2 separate regions of the Homo sapiens genome follow, and region 2 is linked to region 1. The links are contacts of gene promoters, found by promoter capture Hi-C in human tissues and cell types (Jung and others, 2019). All regions are on one chromosome and are shown on one strand. Each heading gives the region's core, a stretch centred on a gene start or on the middle of the fragment in contact. The rest is flanking DNA. Distances are from core to core; before and after follow the strand shown. Region 1 holds the start of PRPS1L1 (phosphoribosyl pyrophosphate synthetase 1 like 1). Region 2 has its middle 41 kb from the start of PRPS1L1.

What was found. The method cuts DNA at HindIII sites, captures the fragments that hold promoters and counts their contacts. A contact is called where the count stands out against the background at its distance.
Region 2: a fragment that was not itself captured here is called in contact with the fragment with the promoter of PRPS1L1 in region 1 in 2 of the 25 tissues and cell types used here (heart left ventricle and mesenchymal stem cells).

The regions. Positions count from the first base shown.
Region 1 is chr7:18,026,288-18,029,821 of GRCh38, reverse strand. PRPS1L1 (phosphoribosyl pyrophosphate synthetase 1 like 1) reads left to right here and starts at 1,976. Exons shown (of 1, transcript NM_175886.3): 1 at 1,976-3,052. The coding sequence starts at 2,040. The coding sequence ends at 2,996. The HindIII fragment of the contact is 4,496 bases long and covers 1-2,850 here.
Region 2 is chr7:18,066,954-18,070,487 of GRCh38, reverse strand. No RefSeq gene overlaps it. Among named protein-coding and RNA genes, the nearest start is that of PRPS1L1, 41 kb to the right of the region's middle. The HindIII fragment of the contact is 3,716 bases long and covers 54-3,534 here.

The sequences.
Region 1 (3,534 bases), core at 727-3,226:
AAATGCAACCAAGTATGGGTTTTAAATGTTCACATTAGCATTTAATCCTATTTAGGTAATATTAAACCTGTTTAGAATCTGTTTTGTTTTTTAAACAACACTGAAAAATGTGTGACACACAGAATAGTAAGAGAAAAATAAATTGAAACTACAAATACTATTAGTGCTTCTAAATTAAGCCACGGGATTTTTAGAAATCACTTTATGTAGTCTGGCTAAGGGTGAGAATTATGTGGTATAGGTAGGTCTGTTGATTTTTTGTGTGTGTGATAAAAAGAATATGAATGAAGGGTTATGGACAGAAATGGGCTGGCATACACTGTCAACCAGGAAGAGGCTGAACTAGAGAGAAAACCATGTTGATGCCAGGAGAGAAATGATTGGATCAGCAGCAAGCCATTTTGGTGTAAAATTTAAAACATAGCTGTTTATTTGAGTTTATAATAATACCTCATTCAATATATAAAACTACCTTTTTATAGCTAAGTAATGTTTTTCACAGACATTGCTGAATCTTACCCATCTTTGTTGCCTACCCCATTTCTTATCCCATTTCTGAGTTTATCCTATTCATGAACCCAACACATTAAGGAAGCCCAGAAGTGTGGTGAGAAAATCTCTTAAATTATTTGGTTATCTTACAATATGAAAAAAATGATGATTTGGTTTTAGGCTAAATAAAAACACCCTGGTATCCAAATGTCAGGCACACAATTAGCAAGATATAAATGGTTGATCTGTATCTGATGCCTCCATTATTTTTATGAAATCATTGGCATCTATGGTCCTTTCTGCCTCCTTCCTCACTATTTCCAGCCCCGATACGCCATAGAAGCTGTATACTTAAAATTTGCTAACAAACATTTAATTACCAAATACATTTTGTTCATCATTTTTACTACAAAAGTAATAAATGTTCAAATGCCACACTGATAGCAGTAAAATGTAACAGTCCTCCTTCATTCTCAACTCTCACAACCTACTCCCCTCTCCAAAGGTAATTATTATAAAGAGGACTTCCATGCTAATTGGATGCTTTCAGTATCACATAATCTTAAATACATAAATATAATACTATGATATTTTTGTGACTGACTTTACCTTTAAAAAAATACCTAGGAGACATTTCCACATGATTACACTTAATCTATTTAATGGTCGCATATGTATATACAATAAATTATTTGGTAATTTACCTATTGATGAACATTTGTTGGTTCCCATATTTTGCTTTTATAAACAATTCTAGGGCAATTACTATTTGTCATGCACAATTTTTATACCCTAGAAGTAGTATAATACCTGACATATAGGAGGTGTTCACAAAATATTTATTGCATGAATGAATACAGCTACACTACTATGTAGCCATATATATTTGGGGTGCTTGTGAAAATTTCTCTGAAATAGATTCCTAGAAGTATACATGATGAGTCAAAGTTTATGTGCAAAATTACCCATGCAAAATCTACATATTTATACATTCCATCCGAATAGAAGACCTTATCTTAACATTTTGGCTACTTGATGTGTGAAAATAGCGTTTTCTTGATTACTTCCATTGTTTCACGTTTCTTATCCATTTTTTTTTTACTGTGATTGCCTATTTATGCCATTTTTCAACTTTCTATTTTATTGTCTTTTTCTCACTTCATTGGGGAAATTCTTTCTAAAATAATCTTTTGCATATACTTTAGTAGGTAATTTTCCTTTTAAACTTGGGTTTTGCTTTGTAGTTTTATGTTTTTATGCATTCAAATTTGTTTAAATAGCCCTGTGAAACTAATATAGGTGCTAATAGAAAAAAACTCCATACACTGTAAATACTTGATTATTTAGTCTAAAAGTGTGAAGTGGGAGGTGGCAAGCAGAAATTTTTTCAAGAGACCCAGGGTCAATTTGGGACCGCGCGCCGCAAGGGGGAAGGGACCCTAACGGTTGAGTAACAACCGGAAGCCATTAGAGTCTGTGCTTCACTTCCGTTCCAGCCTCAGCGGCAGCTGGATCGCTCGACGGAGTGCCTCTGGTAGTTGGCCAAGACGCCGAATATCAAAATCTTCAGCGGCAGCTCCCACCAGGACTTATCCCAGAAAATTGCTGACCGCCTGGGCCTGGAGCTAGGCAAGGTGGTGACTAAGAAATTCAGCAACCAGGAGACCTGCGTGGAAATTGATGAGAGTGTGCGTGGAGAGGATGTCTACATCGTTCAGAGTGGTTGTGGCGAAATCAACGACAGTCTAATGGAGCTTTTGATCATGATTAATGCCTGCAAGATTGCTTCAGCTAGCCGAGTTACTGCAGTCATCCCATGCTTCCCTTATGCCCGACAGGATAAGAAGGATAAGAGCCGGTCCCCAATCTCTGCCAAGCTTGTTGCAAATATGCTCTCTATAGCAGGTGCGGATCATATCATCACCATGGACCTACATGCTTCTCAAATTCAGGGCTTTTTTGATATCCCAGTAGACAACTTGTATGCAGAGCCAACTGTCCTGAAGTGGATAAGGGAGAATATCCCTGAGTGGAAGAACTGCATTATTGTCTCGCCAGATGCTGGTGGAGCTAAAAGAGTGACCTCCATTGCAGACCAGTTGAATGTGGACTTTGCTTTGATTCATAAAGAACGGAAGAAGGCCAATGAAGTGGACTGCATAGTGCTAGTGGGAGATGTGAATGATCGTGTGGCTATCCTTGTAGATGACATGGCAGACACTTGTGTTACAATCTGCCTCGCAGCTGACAAACTTCTCTCAGCTGGAGCAACCAGAGTTTATGCTATCTTGACTCATGGAATCTTTTCTGGCCCAGCCATTTCTCGCATCAACACTGCATGCTTTGAAGCAGTGGTAGTCACCAATACCATACCTCAAGATGAGAAGATGAAGCATTGCTCCAAAATACGAGTAATTGACATCTCCATGATCCTTGCAGAAGCCATAAGGAGAACTCATAATGGGGAATCTGTTTCCTACCTGTTCAGCCATGTTCCTTTATAACAGAATAACTTCTAGGTTATGCTATTTTAAAATAAAATAAGATTAATAAAAACAAACCTTGCCTTTATTTTTTCTTAGGTTTGATTAAAAGTTCAGCAGAAGATCCAGCTTGCTCCAGTGTAACTTTCTACATCCCACATCAGGTATATAAGAGTTTACCTTAAATTAGGGAAAAACAGGTTAAGAATAATCACTAGGATTTCCTGACTGGGTTGTCTCATCTGGCTTCTTTGATGATTTTGTTAGCCCAGCAGCTTTAACTACAGCCCTTCTGCTGCAAAGATTTCAGACTTCTGAGGGTGTTTTGTAGAGGTGTTTGAAAGTGGTTGGAAAGCTTACATGTAAATGCTTCGGAGTTTTCTTTTTTCAGAACAACTAGCAATAAAGCCACCCAATCTACCCCCTGCCCCAAACCCCCACTTTGTGTCACAAATTCTCCAAGTTCGATGCTCAGTTGCAGCAAGAGCCCTGAGCCACCACAAAATTAATTCTGGTTGCTGAACACCCTCAACAGCAGGAATAGGCAACTTTCAGCTTG
Region 2 (3,534 bases), core at 662-3,161, 41 kb before region 1:
TTGCTCAGAAGTCTTTTACTGGCCAAGTGGGCAAATTTGCTATGAAAGTAAAAACATGTCTTTACAGATATTTCTGTCATTAAAAAGTAAACATAAGCAAAGACCTGCAGATAGACAGTGAACAAGTAATAGTCTGACAATGAATTCTGATGGCATGAGGAATGTATTTGCTTTTTAAAAGTTATGCAAAATTACGAACACCCCCCCACACACACTTTAAAGGTTTATTTTATGTTCATGAAATTGGTCCTTGGCAGGTCCGCTATCAGTCTCTTCTACAATGTCTCTATTCCAAGGCCTAGGCACATAGAACATAGCTATCCTGAAAGTGCATTCTCATAATCGAGGAAACAAAGCTATGGTGGATGGGTGCACTGGCTCTAAAAGCTTCCAAATGAGAATTACATACATCTGCTCTGCTCATATTTCATTAGCAAAAGCAAATCATTTGGCCATGCCTAACTTCAGTGGAAAGAAGTATAATCGTCTCATGGGGAGGAAGTTCAAGTAGTATTGAACGTATTGTAATATTTATTAAGGATTTCCTATATACAAGGCACTAGACTAGGTGCTAGCACATAGATGATCTCATTTAATTTTTACAACCCTACGATTTGGGTACTGATAATTGTCACTGTTAAAGAAGAGGAAATTAAGACAGAATAAAGTTGACTAGTTAAATCTCACAGCTAATGAATGAATAATGAAGCCTAATTCAGACACAGACAGTCTGACTTTGGGGCCCAGCTCCTAACAAATTATACCGAAGTAGCAACACAAGGGTCTACTGCACAGTTTATTGAATGCAGAAGGCAAAAGATGCAATATTCAGAAATATGAGCAAAACAAAGGAAGCTCATAAGACTTGAGCACTAAGTCAGCAAATCTTGGTAATACAAATATTCAGTAAACTTGATTATTTGCAAAAGCAATCCAGACCTACCTTGCAACATCCATAATAGCACAGAAAGAGGCATTCCAGGGAAATGAGGCCAAGAAGGCCAATAAGGATACTGTCAAACAGATATTTATTGAAAAAGACCAAAGACTAAGACCCAAGAGGACTGAAAAAATTAACCAAGATGTGGATCCCCGGCCTTTCAGGGATCCCTGGTTAGGAAGAATTTGTGGTCAAAACTAAACTCATACTGAATGTTTCTTTACTTACAGGTGTCTATATTAAAATGTTATCTTAAATCTTAATTTAGTAATAGTTTTATTTATAATACATACTTGTGACATTCTCAAATAATGCCATTTTATCAAATCTAAAATTTAGTGGATATTGCTCCCAGCGAAAATAACAATCAGAACCATCCTAAACATGGTCATTGGTGTTGTGATCATCATCATCACCACAGCTAACATTTAATGAGAGTTCATAAGTATCATATGTTTCTCTCTATTTGCATTATCTCAATCAACCCAAATAATAACCCTGTGAGAAATGTACAATAATCAACATGAGGTAACTGAGGCTTAGAGGGATTAAGTAACTTGCCTAAGTTCACAGAACTGGTAAGACGTGAACCAAGATTAGACTCCAGGTGTGTCGGACTCTATGCTTTGGCTTTCACACTGGTGCTTAGGCAATTCCTTCCTTTGTTCACTCCCGAATGAGTTAAGAGAAGTAGGCAGGAGGATGTAGAATCAAGCCCAAACTGATACAATTACATGAAAGGTACATGGGATTAATCAATCAGTTTATTTTCCAAACCCAAAACTTTACTTTTCCCCCATTTTCACTCACATCCATCAAAATAGAAACAATATGATATTGATTATATTCTAGTGCAAATACATTGCCGTTAATTTTGTCACCTTAAGCAGGATAAGCTTACTGCTGTAGCTATAGAATCGTTGCTAGGGACAAGTGTGGACACACTAATATGTGAGCTGCTACCAGCATTTCCAGCTGCTCGAGTCTACTCTTTTCCTGCTCACCCAAATCAACCCAGTCCTCTTTCTCATTTGTCCTAACAGGCCCAGTTGCTGCTGCTGCTTCTTTCTCAAGCTATTCAACATAAAATTGTTCAGGTATGCAAGTGGAACTCAGTTATCCATAAACTTATTAAATAAAATGCTGCATATTTCTTTCAGTCCTATTATTCCTTGGTTCTAATCCTGGCCCTCTGATATACTAACAAAGGAGAAAGTTTTTAAAAATTAAAAATTAAGTTAGACTTTGAATATAAATCACATTCTACAGTAAACCACTTACCTTGAAAAGACAAGTAGATGTCTGAATGGATAAAGAAATGAACACAATATTGACTGAGCACATTATTAAATGTGTCAATTCATTTTAGATTCCAATCTTAACTGTTCATTTATGCTCAGCTCTTCATCATTTGTAGCTTTGTGTAATCAGTAATCAGTAAACGGGTCACATTTTCAGTTTAATTTCAATGTAGTTTCAGTTTCATGGTAATTGGGTCACATTTTGCAGTTTAAAGAGAATTATTTCATTCATTCTCTTCTCAGTCAGCCCAGATGGCTGACCTCTGCAGACTGCATCACCTGGCTTCCTTGCCTTTGGGCACCTGGTTGGGTTTGGCCAATGTGAGGCTCAGAAAGAGAGGTCACATATTATTTAGTACCACCACTCCCAGCTTTGTCTGCTGGGCCACAGCTTGGTAGTGACTGCATGCCTCTTCAGCTTGAAGTTTCCAGAGCTATGGCTCTTACAGGGTTTGTTAAATTGCCCTCACTTCTCAACTCTTCAGACCTAGGGATACTAAGGACTTGCTGCTATTGCTGCAAGAATACCAGAAGTACCCAGTTCCTAGGTACTTTATTACTTGTTGACTATTTTAAACCTTGCCTACACCTCTATACGTTGTCACTGAAGCCCTTTTTACACCTTTGATTACACCTTTGATTGTGCTATCTGTTTTTCTGCCTGGACTATTATATAGGCTAAAACCACCTGTAATAAGAATAAGTCTTTAAGTCAGTCAACCGCAAAATATTCTGACTGGGGCTACCATGTTGCTCTATCATCATCACTAGAATGAGATTGGATACCTGTTTTAAGGCACACCAGGCAGCTCACTAAAGCTTAAAATTCCAAGGTTTCCCGAGAATGCTGGATTTTCCCACCTAACTGCATTAAAGGTATCTAGGACATGCTTGTATTTATCCAAGCTTTAGTCTCACTGGCCAGGGAAGAATCACTTTGTGTGTGTGTGTGTGTGTGTGTGTGTGTGTGTGTGTGTCTGTTTCAACTTAATTATGAACATGTGTATCTTCAATGCATATATCTAATACAATAATAGTAGTATCAATATGACAGGTAGAGCATTGCAAGGAGATGGATCCTTCACTTAAAATAGGTAAATTGTGGACCAAAAAGGAATTTGTTTTTGAAGTACTTGTCACAGAAAAGCATTCTTTCCATTATAGTGTGTTATTAGGGGCCATGGTTGAAGAATCAATAATTCTATCAGTCTTCAAAAGAGAGTGTCAATACTCCCAATCAGGCAATTTTAGAATAGATGATCTGAGACCATAATTAGGCATTAGAAGAATTGG